Linked DNA regions of Homo sapiens: region 1 is linked to region 2. The links are contacts of gene promoters, found by promoter capture Hi-C in human tissues and cell types (Jung and others, 2019). All regions are on one chromosome and are shown on one strand. Each heading gives the region's core, a stretch centred on a gene start or on the middle of the fragment in contact. The rest is flanking DNA. Distances are from core to core; before and after follow the strand shown. Region 1 overlaps NFATC3 (nuclear factor of activated T cells 3). Region 2 holds the start of PSKH1 (protein serine kinase H1).

What was found. Contacts are between HindIII fragments. The study calls those that stand out against the background at their distance.
Region 1: a fragment that was not itself captured here is called in contact with the fragment with the promoter of PSKH1 in region 2 in 1 of the 25 tissues and cell types used here (spleen).

Annotation. Positions count from the first base shown.
Region 1 is chr16:68,203,425-68,206,124 of GRCh38, reverse strand. All of the region lies in intron 9 of NFATC3 (nuclear factor of activated T cells 3), which reads right to left. Among named protein-coding and RNA genes, the nearest start is that of MIR6773, 29 kb to the left of the region's middle. The HindIII fragment of the contact is 4,485 bases long and covers 1-2,700 here.
Region 2 is chr16:67,891,934-67,894,633 of GRCh38, reverse strand. PSKH1 (protein serine kinase H1) reads right to left here and starts at 1,380. Exons shown (of 3, transcript NM_006742.3): 1 at 1,263-1,380. RefSeq lists silencers at 1,134-1,253, 1,584-1,643. The HindIII fragment of the contact is 8,725 bases long and covers 1-2,700 here.

The sequences.
Region 1 (2,700 bases), core at 143-2,642, 310 kb before region 2:
TTTATAAATCTGGATACATTCAACTCATACCTCAATGAGCTAATGCACCTAACAAAGGGCTTCTATAAATCAGTAAGAGGAAGGATCAACAATCTAATAGAAAAGTAAGCAAATATGAAAGAGATCATAGATTTGGGAGGTGGGGGTTGCAGTGAGCCGAGATGGTGCCACTGTACTCCAGCCTGGGCAGTAGAGCGAGAATCCATCTCAAAAAAAAAAAGAAAAAAAGATAGTGGTGCAAATATTCAAAGCAGTATTTTATAGAATATTTTATGGAATATTCTATTTTAAGAATATCTTTTCAAGGAAGCTCTTTTATGTTACAGTATAGAATAATCTCTCAAGATTCTATATTACATGGGAAATGCAAAGTATAAACTAGTATACATAATATGCTAGTAAAAATAAGGGGAAAAAAATGCAACTGTTTATAAATGCATAGAATGACAGCCAAGAAACTAGTAACTCCAATTCTCCCTACAGAGGACAATGGAGTATCTACTTAGAAGACAGATTTTTTTTAACTATGTATAATGTTGTAACTTTAGCATTTTAAACCACATGAACATATTACTTGTTCAAAAAATGATTATATTAAGAAACACAGGCCAGGCATGGTGGCTCACGCCTGTAATCCTAGCACTTTGGGAGGCCGAGACCAACCTGAGCAACGTAGTAAAAGCCTGCCTCTACAAAAAAATTTAAAAATTAGCCGGATGTGGTGGCAGGCACCTGTAGCCCCAGCTACTCGGGAGGCTGAGGTGGGAGAGAAATGCTGGAGCCTGGGAGGTCGAGGCTGCAGTGAGCCATGATGGTCCCACTGCACTCCAGCCTGATCAACAGAGCAAACTCCTGTCTCCGTTCCCCCACCAAAGAAATAAACACATTTAAAATGTTAAAATTCCCATTCTACATAAAATCATCTATAGATGTTTTTAAATATACAACATGATTATCAAGGACTTAATCTGTACCACACTCTTGTAGATGTAAAGTTAAAATGCTTGTAACCATCACTCTCAACCCTACCCTATCTTCCAGCATAAATGAGACTTTCACATGTTGTCTCTTGCCCAGATGGAGACACTAACTGTAGGCTTTGGAAATGTCTTTAAAAAAAAAAAAAAAAAAGAGCCAGGCATCTTCAAACAGAGAAAAGCTGTTTGAACACATTTATCTAAGTCTATCAAAAGCTATGATTGTTAGCAAGAGGTAACCTTGTAATGCCAAGGCAGAAAACTGCCACCAAACCACAAAAAGCTTGTTCAACTGCTGAACCTAAAATTAAACAATTTATCTCTCATTAAAAAATCTTTTTGTTCCTGTGAATAATCTGTCTTCGAAGGAACTCAAAAAAAGGATATCAATTTTAAAATAGAATACATCTTTAAGACAGGTTTTGCTATCTTACACATGGCAGCACATTAGAAAGTTACAATGCTATTGTCTTTACGAAAGCGAGATTATATAAGTAATCAATTATAGCTATTTTAGAAGCCACTAAAAACACATGTGAGAAAATCTACATTTCAGACAAATCTGGATTCAAATGTCTGCCCCAATTATTTGTGGCCATATAACGCTGGGATGTGCTTAAGGTCTCTGAGCCACATCTATACAAAATTAAGACTAATAATTCACATTTCACACATGATTGCAAAGAATTAATGAGCCACTAGCAAAGTGCCTAGCACAGTGTTCAAAAAAAATATGAGTTTATCAAGAAACAGTAACCATAATTCATTACCATTTTTTGTATTTTTGAGACAGAGTATCACTCTGCTGCCCAGGCTGGAGTGCAGTGGCCTGATCTCAGCTCACTGCAACCTCTGTCTCCCAGGTTCAAGTGATTCTCCTGCCTCAGCCTCATGAGTAGCTGAAATTACAGGCGTTCACCACCATGCGTGGCTAATTTTCACTATTTTCTTTTTTTTTTGGAGATGGAGTCTTGCTCTGTCGCCCAGGCTGGAGTGCAGTGGCACCATCTCAGCTCACTGCAACCTCTGCCTCCCAGGTTCAAACGATTCTCCTGCCTTAGCCTCCCAAGTAGCTGAGATTACAGATGTGTGCCACCACACCCGGCTTATTTTTGTATTTTCAGTAGAGACGGGGTTTCACCATGTTGGCTAGCCTGGTGTCAAACTCCTGGCCTCCAGTGATCCGCCTGCCTCGACCTCCCAAAGTGCTGGGATTGCAATCATGAGCCACTGTGCCTGGCCCAATTTTTACTGTTTTTAGTAGAGACGAAGTTTCACCATGTTGGTTAAGCTGGTCTTGAACTCCTGATGTCAAATGATCCTCCCATCTCGGTCTTTCAAAGTGCTGGGATTACAGGCACGAGCCACCGCGCCCAGCCATTAACTATTTTTAAATACACATTTTGAGGGGAACTTAGTTTGAAGACTTCTGATATGCTGCTTTAGTGGTAGCCTCTCTTGGACTTTTCCTAGCTTATGTATAAATTATATTTTTAATTGCATTTTATTTATTTTGAGACAGGGTCTCACTCTGTCGCCCAAGTTGAAGTGCAGTGGCATGATCTCTGCTAATTTCAACCTCTGCCTTCCAGGCTCCAGCGATCCTCCCACCTCAGCCTCTCGAGTAGCTGGGACTATAGGCACACGCCACCACACCCGGCCTAATTCTGGTATTTTTTATAGAGACAGGGTTTCACCATGTTGCCCAAGCTGGTCTCAAACT
Region 2 (2,700 bases), core at 131-2,630:
ATAGTAGCAGCATGGATATAGAGGAGTTAATGGTTACATGCCAAGCAAGGTAGATTTTTTTCCTAGGAAGTGACATCTCAGGTGGATTTTATAGGACAGATGTAAGTTTCCAACACTGGTAGGTGGTCGGTGGGGTGGAAGGCAGTGTATAGCAAACTGAGAAAACTGCGTTATCTAAAGCACAAGGGGACCAAGCACAGTGGCTCACGCTTGTATTAATAATCTCAATATGTTAGGAGCCTAGGCAGGAGGGTCTCTTGAAGCCAGCTCTGGCAACAAAGCCAGACTCCCTGGCTCTACAAAAAATTTTAAACTTAGCCAGGCGTGGAGGGGAGTGCCTCTTGTCTCAGCTACTCGGGAGGTTGAGGCGGGAGGATCATTTGAGTCCAGGAGTTCAAGGCTGCAGTGAGCTATGAATGAGCCATTGCACTCCAGCTTGGGCAATAGAGGCCTTGTCTCAAAATTAGTAATACTAAAACACAAAGGTATGAAACCAGAGCTAACAGGAGCGCCACACGTTTTAACAACAATAAACTACGTAAAGGGAGCACAGAAGTGCTCCGGTGTTGATTGGCTGGTTAAACCTTCACCAGATTACGAAGAGCCCTGAATGCCTTGCTAAGAAGTGCGGCCTTTGTCCTGAAGGCACTAAGGAACTAGTTTCAGGCAGTGAAGGACTTACTCAGATTTTCAGGTGGGAATTATCACTTCAGCCGCTTTATGGAGGGGGACTAAGTGTGGGGGACTAGGCTTCCCCTTGCAGGTAGAGGAATGACAAGCTTGCCAAGCAAGCAACCCAGCTGGACTCAGACCTGCTATTTCCCAGCCTGCACAAGGAAGCGATCAGCTGCCCCGCCGGCCCCTGGCAGACGCAAAGGAGGGGTGTGGAGTAGGCGCCGGGCGCGAGAAGGCAGTAAGGACAAGGACAACCAGGTTGGATCAACCTGACCCGCTCTGGACGCGGGGCGGCTGAACAGCAAGCAGGCAGGGCAACCGACCACGTCCACCAGGCCCAAGCGGGCCTGGAGACGGGCTATCCAGCACGACAGCACGTTCCGAGGCCAGTCCAGACTCGGACGCCGGGAACCCGAGCAGCCATCGCCCGGCCTGCTCTCCAACCCTGTAGGCCCTGGCGCACGGGGCACGGGCCGACGCTGCAGGCTGACCAGGGGCAGGCCCCGGAGCGCCAGAAAGCGACCACGACCACAGTTCGGCTGCCCCTCCCGCCCGTCGGGCCGTCGTCCTGGGCCGGGCCGCCTCACCTCGCGCGGGCGGCGGGCTCTTCGGCGTCTCGGCGGCTCTGCCGGCCATCTCCGGGCAATGGCAGCGGCCGCCGCCGCCGCCGCCGCCGCCGCCATTCTCGGGCGTTAGCGTCGTGGCGTCATCACAGCGCGCAGCTGACGCCAAAACAAGCCTACGGGGCGGGTCGGGGGCGGGTCGGGGGCGGACTCTCCCGAAACTGGGCTACGCGGCTGGCGGATCTCCGAGCGTGGCCTGCCAATCAACCTCTTCGGGGCGGGGACGGGCACTCTCCTGAAGGGGTGGGTCTATTTGTCGCTCAAAGTAACTTGACCGCTGCCTGCGAGACGGGTCGGTGATAGAAAAAGGAAGGATCGCGGGAAATAGGGAGAAAGTTTCAAGTTTCTGGTTGGGGGAAAGGGGACTCTGTAATGCGAGCTTGGGTAAACAATGCTTTCCAACAGAGGTTTCTGGAAGTGCCTCTGGAACTCCGCAAAGGATAGACTTAATTTTCATTAACAAAATCTATTTTTTAAAACTGCACTTAGAATAATTTCAACACTCCATGTGTTGAATTTGGCCTCCATCAAAGAAGAGATGCAAAGGGTTAATTTGTAGATAGGTGAAGTCAATCTTGGGCCAACTTCTGGACTCATGGTTATTTGTTGTTGTTAATTTAATTTATATGCCGAGTCTGAAAAGCAAGCGGATTTTTAAAAAATTGTTACCATTCACAATGACTTCTCTATAGGATCAGAACTGGTTCACTTTACAGTCAACCCAACTTGGAGGGGTTAAAATAGGTGCTGCAGATGGTAAGTGCATTGTAACCTCCATCCATCTTCCCCATTTCAGTAGCTCTGTATTCAAATCTTTATTGAGTATGTACTTTGCACATGGAACTGTCTTTGATTGACTGTATAAGCTAATGTTATACTTTAAACCTAAAAATAAATTAACACCAATAAAACATTGTCGTCGGCTGGGCGCCACTGCTCACACTTGTAATCCCAGCACTTTGGGAGGCCAAGGCAGGTGGATCACCTGAAGTCAGGAGTTTGAGACCAGTCTGACCAACAAGGTGAAACCCTGTCTCTACTAAAAATACAAAAATTAGCCAGGCTTGGTGGCAGGCTCCTGTAGTCCCAGCTACTCGGGAGGCTGAGACAGGAGAATAGCTACAACCTGGGAGACAGAGGTTGCAATGAGCTGAGATTGCACCACTGCACTCCAGCCTTGGCGATGGAGTGAGACTCCGTCTCAAAAAAAAAAAAAAAATTGTTGTCTATTTTATGTAGTAAGGTTTCTTTCTTTTCTTTTTTCCTGAGATGGAGTTTCGCTCTTGTTGTCAGGCTGGAGTGCAATGGCACAATCTCGGCTCACTGCAACCTCTGCCTCCCAAGTTCAAGCAATTCTCCTGCCTCAGCCTCCCCGAGTAGCTGGGATTACAGGCGCCTGCCA